Linked DNA regions of Homo sapiens: region 1 is linked to region 2. Evidence: promoter capture Hi-C in human tissues and cell types (Jung and others, 2019). All regions are on one chromosome and are shown on one strand. The core of a region is centred on a gene start or on the middle of the fragment in contact, and the rest is flanking DNA. Distances in the headings are between cores, read along the strand shown. Region 1 overlaps BTRC (beta-transducin repeat containing E3 ubiquitin protein ligase). Region 2 holds the start of SCD (stearoyl-CoA desaturase).

Region 1 (4,054 bases), core at 117-2,616, 1.1 Mb after region 2:
GTAGCTGAGACTACAGGCACACGACCACACTTGGCTCATTTTTCTATTTTTTTTGTGGAGATAGGGTTTCACCATGTTGTCCAGGCTGGTATCGAACTCCCCAGCTCAAGTGATCTGCCTGCCTCAGCCTCCCAAAGTGCTGGGATTACAGATGTGAGCCACTGCACTTGGCTATATCCTATATTTTTAACTACATATCATACTGACAAGGTTCTGCCATTGAAGAATCCATAGTCTAGTTTGTTGGTTTTTTTGTTTTGTTTTGTTTTTTAACCTTTTCGGGGTTGCAGTTAGTTTAGGCGATCTGCAAAGTCTGAGGGAATTGTAGTGCCTAAAAGGCTGCTCCTACTTCAGAAACTAGTTTCATGTTTAGAGGCCCCCACAACCACTCTTAGGTTTGATAACTTGCTAGAAAGGACTTAGAATTCACTGAAAACAATTATACTCACAGTTTATTACAGGAAAAGGACACAGGTTAAAATTAGCCAAAAGAAGAGACACATAGGGCAGAATCTCGGAAGGATCCAATTGTAGAACTTCCTGTCATCCTCTCCCCATGGAGTCATGGATGGCATTACTGCCTCCCAGCCGCAGTGTGTGACAATACTCACAGAGTATTACCAACCATGAAATTGACCTGAGCCTTTGGTGTCCAGGTATTCACTGGGGCTCTATCACATACTGCTCACATGGCTGACTTCTAGTCTCTTATTTCCTCCTGGTGTTGAAACTTATAGGTATGGTTTAGTGCCCCCAACATGAATCACATTTGTCCAGTCGCTAAATCTCTCAGGCAAGCAGAGATACTCTCACCAGACAAGAAGTTCCAGGGGCCCAGAGACCGCTTTCCAGTAGCCAAGAGGAAAGGCCATTCCTTTCTTTGGTGAAGAGTAATTCTTCACTACACAGGGGTCATGGATCTCTTTGGGAATCTGATGAGAACTATTGATCTTGGGTATTTGGCAACATTGTGTTGAATACTTTACATACATATATAGATGTTTATTATATTTCTATTTTGTGAAATGATTGAGAGCTATTAAATCACATAATTCTGAAAGTGTAATCTCCCAAGCTGATAAATTCTAGGAAGGGAATGTTCAAGGAGCTGTAAGAATATATAAAAGGGGGACCCAATCTAACCTGAAGTTTGAGGTAAAGAAGATCAGGTAATCAATGTTTAAGAGCTGAAGGATGAATAGGAATTAACTCGATAACAGGGAGGAATGGAGGAGAAGGAGGACATTTCAGGCCTAAGGAAGAGTCAGTGCAAAGGCCCCAAGAGCCAGTGAGGCTTGGTGCATTTAAGGACCCTACTGAAAACAAGACTGTTGTTTCAGAGAATAAAGAGAAAGGGGAGAATAGAGTGAGAAAAGACTGGGGAAGCTTGATCACTGAGGTCTTATGGGCCATTCAAAGTGTGTAGTTTAGTCTTGATTCTAAGAATAGTAAGTCACTGAAAGGATTTAAGCACAAGTTTTACCTGATCTGATTTGCATTACTCTGGCTATAAGAAGATGCATTTAGATATGTTACTCTGGCTATAAAAAGGATAATTTCAGTAGTTGAAGAGAGAGATGATGGCAGCTTGGTTTTGGACCCAGGATCTTTAAATTCTTAAAAAATTATTGAGGACCCCAAAGTGCTTTTGTTTATATGGCTTATATCTATTGATATTCACTATATTTGTAATAGGAATTAAGAAAAAAAAATTAAATATTCTTTAATTCACCTAAAGACTATAATAAACCTGTGGCATATAATGCAAATAACATTTTTATGAAAAATATATTTTTCAAAAAAAATTAAGACTAGTGTATTACATTTTTATGAATCTCTTTAATGTCTGGATTAAGAAAAGACAGCTGGATTCTCATGTCTGCTTCTGCACTCAATCTATTGTGGTTTGTTATTTTGGTTGACATATGTGAGTAATATCTGACCTGGCATAGGTATATAGTTTGAAAGGGAAAGATATTTTAATACCATTTTCAGGTAGTTGCAGTTTCTTGAAGATTAGTTGCAGTATGGTATCTGAAGCCTTATCAATGAACTTCCTCTGTTATTGTATTAAAATCCATTGGTCTCAGTTTTTTTCAATAAATTATGCTGGAACAATTGGATATCCTTGTGCAAAACAATGAACCTCAACGGTTATACTGCACTATATACATAAATTAATTTGAAATGGATCATAGACCTAAATCGGAGTTAACATGTATAAAACTAATAGAAAATGTGGCAAAAATAATCATTGTGACTTTGGGTTAGGCAGAGATTTCTTAGCTAAGATACAAAAAATATGAACCATAAAAGAAATAACTGATAAATTGGACTTCATCACTGTTTAAAAATTCTGCTTTTCAAAAGACACTTTAAAAAAATGAGCAGGAACCAGGTACAGCAGTGCATGCCTGTAGTCCCAGCTACTCAGGAAGCTGAGGCGGGAGGATTGCTTAAGCCCAGGAGTTCAGGGCTATAGTGCCTGTGAAAAACCACTGCTTAAGAACAGCCTGACCAACATGGCTGAAACCCCGTCTCTACTAAAAACGCAAATTTAGTAGAGACGGGGTTTCAGCCATGTTGGCCAGGCTGTTCTTAAACTCCTGTCTTCAGGTGATCTGCCCACCTCGGCCTCCTAAAGTCCTGGGATTACTGGCATGAGCCACTGCACCTGGCCTCAACAAGATTATTATTATGTCTTATGTAGCAAAAATGGGCTTATGTACTGGTTTTACCCTATCAATTCAATAATTTGTTCTATGTCAGGTTCAGCACACACAGGTGCTTGATAATACTGGTTGACTAATAGGCAGAAACTGGATTTGAATCTAGTATCTTCTCTGCCCACCTACTGGAATTACAGCAGTCTTAGTGCATTTGCATCCTTCTGGTTTAGGTTTTATTTTATTTACCTAGATTTTTATTTAGGTAAATTATTTACTTAGATTTTTATTTAGGTAAAATTTACATACAGTGAGATACATGGATCATAAGTGTACTCTTAGGTGAGTTTTGACAAATGCATACTTTTGTGTAACCTTCAATTTCAAGATACACAACAGTTTCATAATCTGAGTTTCCTCATACTCCTTTCCAGTCTGTACCCATCCCCCATATGCAATTACTGTTCTGATTTGTCACCAAGAATTTGTGTTGCCTATTCTTGAACTTACTTCATATAAATGCCATCATATAGTGTACATTCTTTGTGTCTGTTTTCTTTCAATCAGTATGATGTTTTTAAGATTTATCCATGTTACGTATATCAGTAGTTCTCTTTTATTGTTAAATATATTTCATTATATTAGTACACCACAATTTGTTTATCCATTCATTTATTGATAGGTATTTGGATTGTTTCCAATTTTGGCCTATTATTAATAAAGCTACTATAAACAGTTTTGTATAAGTCTTTTTTTTGGCATGTATTTTTATTTCTCTTAGGTACATGTCTAAGAATGGAATTTGTTGGGTCATAGAGTAAGTGTATTTTTAACTTTAAAAGAGACAGTGAAGCAATTCTTCAAAGTGGTTGTCACAGGAATACCCATTTTTACTAATATTGACAAATATGTTAATGAAATGTCTCATTTAATGTAATGGCTTCATGACTTTTTTTTTTTGATCATTGGATTCTTTTAGTAAGTTTGAAGCATCTTAAGTCAAAATTCTTATGGCAATAAAGAAGGAGAAGCTATGGAGTCATTGCTGAATTTGTTGGATTATTCCCAGTAGCTCAAATTGAAACCACAGCATTGAGATGGTTTGAAAACTAGTGACAGGGAAGATGCTGAAAAAAGTTGTTAGAATAAATTCTATGGGGATATGTTTAGTTTGAGGATATTTTTATTTTCATCATTCCATTGATTTATCCTGGAAAGTGTATGAGTGATTAGAAGATTTCTGTTGATTACCAGTAGATATATTTGATGGAATCATTTGCTCATTCCCAGCAAATGGTGATCCTATAATCTATAATATTAAATGAGAATGAGCAATAGAGTTAAAGTAATTAAAAATAGCTGAGTAATTAAGATTCTTTATTTTGCTT
Region 2 (4,447 bases), core at 1,727-4,226:
GAGTAGCTGGGACTACAGGCTTGTGCCACCAGGCCCAGCTAAGTTTTAAAAAATGATTTTTGGTATAGAGGAGGTCTTGCTATGTTGCTCAGGCTGTATTTTTATTGTTGAGACAAGGTCTCACTATGTTGCCATGATCCCCCCACCTCCACTTCCCAAAGTGCTCATCTTATCTGTTCATTAGTCAGTTGACAGACATTTAGGTTGTTTCCACTTTTTGACCATTATGAATAATACTCCAGTGAATATTCATGTATACATTTGTGTGGGCATATGTTTTCATTTCTGTTGGGTTTATATCTAGGAGTGGAATTGCTGGATCCCGGGTAATATTTTGACAGGCAGAGTTCAGGGGAAGAAAAACTTGGGAAAATGAAGCATGTTTAGAAATCAGCAAGAGTGCAGGGGTTTTTCGGAGTTTTATTTTATATTCTGTTGACAAATGTGCAGTTTGATGAAGATACAAGTTATACTAAGTGAGAAGTGAGAATTAAGGCTGGAATAGGGCGTTCAGAGTAAAATCATGAAGCACTTTGAATACCAAAATTAAGGAGCTTGGCTGTAAACAAAATAATAAAAAATCACAATTTTTTTTTTTTTTTTGAGAAAGAGTCTTGCTCTTTCACCCTGGCTGGAGGGCAGTGGTGTGATCTCAGCTCACTGCAACTTTCGCCTCCCGGGTTCAAGCAATTCTCCTGCTTCAGCCTCCCAAGTAGCTGGGACTACAGGCACTTCCCACCATGCCCAGCTGATTTTTGTATTTTTAGTAGAGATGGGATTTCACTTTGTTGGCCAAGCTGGTCTCAAACTTTTTGCTGTCATAATTGTTGTAACTATTGTTCCTTTTGCTGAGGTAGGGCCCCCAGACCAAAAAAAATAAATCTTAGAATCCAAATCAGTGTGTTGGTTTGACCACTGTCACTTGAGAACCACAGTGTGACCAGGGCCTCAGGAGTAGAGGTGATCTCTGCTCGAAAGAGAAATAGAATGAAAATATTCTCCGGGCCAGGCGTGGTGGCTCATGCCTGTAATCCCAGCACTTTGGGAGGCCAAGGCATGTGGATCACCTGAGGTCAGGAGTTCAAAACCAGCCTGGCCAACATGGTGAAACCCCGTCTCTACTAAAAATACAAAAAATTAGCTAAGTGTGGTGGCGCATGCCTGTAATCCCAGCTACTTGGGAGGGTGAGGCAGGAGAATTTCTTGAACCCGGGAGGCAGAGGTTGCAGTGAAGCGAGATCACACCACTGCACTCCAGCCTGGGGGAGAGAGCGAGACTTCCTCTCAAAAAAACAAAAAACAAAAGAATTAAGCAAATTAGACATTGCAGAGAGAACCTGAAGGGGGTCAGACCACGTACAGATTTCTGTGCCACATGCCAAGTACTTCTGAGGCATGACTGGATGAGCTGTCCACATCTGAAATCATCCAGTCTTGTTCAGAACTTTCACACCGGACAGGGAGCCAGGACTGGAATGCAGTCTCCTGGTCACTGGCCAGAGAGTTGGCCTGACCCTGAGACCAGTGGCCAACAAAGGAGCTGCTTAGTCTACCTCCCAGGAAATCCCAGGTGCTTGTCTTCCTGGGAAGTGAATCATTGGCGCAGCACTCCGTATTTTCTCCTCTTCCCAGGGGAAGGATCCTAGGGCAGTATTTGGGAAAGACATGGGCATGGAAGGACACCGGGTGAATGCATAGCCTGCCTGGTTCTGAGCTCTCATGGTAAGGCTCCTACAGACACGGAAAAGATGGGGGCACAGGGACAGATCAGTAGGGTCAGAGCATCTCAGGGACCGAGGGCAATATGGTCCTGAGCAGGGATTAAGAGCTTGGGCTCTCATATGGTGTTTCTGGGCTCAACTGCCAGCTCCATCACTTACTGGTTGCTGTGACCATGGGCAAGTTATTCCATCTCTCCATATCTCTTTCCTCACTTTTAAAATGGAATAATGGGGTACCCACCTCCCAGGGTCACAGAGAGGCTTACAGAAAACGATTCTTGTGAATTGGCTTGCAGTAATAATTCAATACCTGCCAGCTATTCTTATTCCACATCCAAGCCCTTTCGCCTGCTGCTGGGTGAAAACACATGTCAGTGTTTCCTGACGGTTTCCACAAAGAAGATTCCAAAATTACAACCTGCCAGTCTGAAGAATCTCCAAAACATCCCGCACGCATCCTGGAGGCGCGGGCTTGGGGATGGGACTGCCCGCCCGGGTCCTGAACAGGATGCGTGCGCGCAGGCACACACACACCAGCCAGCCTGTGTGTGCGGCCGGAGTCCGGTGCGGTCCCGGGTGAGCAGCGCGTGGCTGGTGGGCGGGGCAGAGCCATTGTTCGCAGGCGTACCGAGTCCCCCGCGCTCGCCCGGGAGGGAGGCGGGGCTTCCCGCGTCCCCCAAGCTCCAGATCCTGGGGTGGCTGCCACGTCTCCCTGCCACGCGCCTGGGGGGACGGAAGACGGGACGGAGATGTTAGTGGTGGGCGCCCCCCGAGGGTTCACCACTGTTTCCTGAGAAACTTCCCCAGTGCCCACCCACCCGTTCTCCGTGTGCCCGAGGGCCGGTCCTGGGCTAGGCTCCGCGCCCCAGCCCCAAACCGGGTCCCCAGCCCCTTCCAGAGAGAAAGCTCCCGACGCGGGATGCCGGGCAGAGGCCCAGCGGCGGGTGGAAGAGAAGCTGAGAAGGAGAAACAGAGGGGAGGGGGAGCGAGGAGCTGGCGGCAGAGGGAACAGCAGATTGCGCCGAGCCAATGGCAACGGCAGGACGAGGTGGCACCAAATTCCCTTCGGCCAATGACGAGCCGGAGTTTACAGAAGCCTCATTAGCATTTCCCCAGAGGCAGGGGCAGGGGCAGAGGCCGGGTGGTGTGGTGTCGGTGTCGGCAGCATCCCCGGCGCCCTGCTGCGGTCGCCGCGAGCCTCGGCCTCTGTCTCCTCCCCCTCCCGCCCTTACCTCCACGCGGGACCGCCCGCGCCAGTCAACTCCTCGCACTTTGCCCCTGCTTGGCAGCGGATAAAAGGGGGCTGAGGAAATACCGGACACGGTCACCCGTTGCCAGCTCTAGCCTTTAAATTCCCGGCTCGGGGACCTCCACGCACCGCGGCTAGCGCCGACAACCAGCTAGCGTGCAAGGCGCCGCGGCTCAGCGCGTACCGGCGGGCTTCGAAACCGCAGTCCTCCGGCGACCCCGAACTCCGCTCCGGAGCCTCAGCCCCCTGGAAAGTGATCCCGGCATCCGAGAGCCAAGATGCCGGCCCACTTGCTGCAGGACGATGTGAGTTTCCCAGCCTGGCCCCGTACCGCCGGGTCGCAGGCGCGGGCTGGGCTTCCAGGGGACGGGTTGGTGGCAGAAGAGAGGGGAGAGCTCCGCGGAGGACTTGGTCATCTTTTTCGAGTTGTGCTGCCTTCCGTGAGTTGGGAATGTGGATTGTAATTTGGGGACTTGAGTCTCCAACTTTAGTTTCTTAAGCTTTAAAGAAAAATCCGGTCGTGCTGGTGCTTTTATGAATTATGCGGGTTTTCCTTTGTCTTCGTGGGGATGTGAGTGCTTTACTTCTCCTTCCTACTGCCGCCTCCCGATAGGTTTCGCGCCCCTCGTCCCCCTCGCCCTCCGCCCCTAATGTATCTGTACAGTTTCAGGGAACTTTTCTCCGTTGCGTCTCGGATACACCCTACCCTCAGTGAACTACGGCGCTGCGGAAGGGTCCGTACTGTCCACCCTTCCCCCAGCGTGATTAGAGAGCGGAGTGGCCCCAGCTGCCTCCACGTGTCTCTTCTCCTGACTCTCCTCTTCCTCCCCCTTCCAGATCTCTAGCTCCTATACCACCACCACCACCATTACAGCGCCTCCCTCCAGGGTCCTGCAGAATGGAGGAGATAAGTTGGAGACGATGCCCCTCTACTTGGAAGACGACATTCGCCCTGATATAAAAGATGATATATATGACCCCACCTACAAGGATAAGGAAGGCCCAAGCCCCAAGGTTGAATATGTCTGGAGAAACATCATCCTTATGTCTCTGCTACACTTGGGAGCCCTGTATGGGATCACTTTGATTCCTACCTGCAAGTTCTACACCTGGCTTTGGGGTAAGCAGCCTCCCTGTCCTCCTGACCTAGTCCTCCAGGTACTCACTGCTCTTTTAATAAGGTAGGATCTTACAGAGGACACCAGCCCCTCCCAGCCTCCCGGTTGGGGTTTTTCTCAGGCATTTCTCTTTGGTTGCTTCAGGCCTAGTGGGCTGGGAAGAACCTGGGGGTACTGAGATGCAGGACTGTCAATGCTGGGGGTTGAGAGCTTTGGAACCTTGTGCTTGTGGGCTTTGAAGTGTGCTGTGCTGGAGAGTCAGCTTTCCCTGAAAGAGCTTTTCTGTTTGAGTCATTTGCTTGGCTGCCTGTCCCACCCCTGCCAGCCACAAAAGAATCAAACCCCTCTACCTGGGAGGC

The links. The method cuts DNA at HindIII sites, captures the fragments that hold promoters and counts their contacts. A contact is called where the count stands out against the background at its distance.
Region 1: a contact is called between a fragment that was not itself captured here and the fragment with the promoter of SCD in region 2, in 1 of the 25 tissues and cell types used here (dorsolateral prefrontal cortex).

Annotation. Positions count from the first base shown.
Region 1 is chr10:101,432,255-101,436,308 of GRCh38, forward strand. The region is part of intron 2 of BTRC (beta-transducin repeat containing E3 ubiquitin protein ligase); the gene reads left to right. Among named protein-coding and RNA genes, the nearest start is that of BTRC, 80 kb to the left of the region's middle. The HindIII fragment of the contact is 5,602 bases long and covers 1-4,054 here.
Region 2 is chr10:100,344,257-100,348,703 of GRCh38, forward strand. It overlaps SCD (stearoyl-CoA desaturase), which reads left to right and starts at 2,977. Exons shown (of 6, transcript NM_005063.5): 1 at 2,977-3,275; 2 at 3,808-4,090. The coding sequence starts at 3,249. RefSeq lists silencers at 2,242-2,621, 2,822-2,871 and enhancers at 2,412-3,003, 2,652-2,721, 3,102-3,341. The HindIII fragment of the contact is 8,743 bases long and covers 1-4,447 here.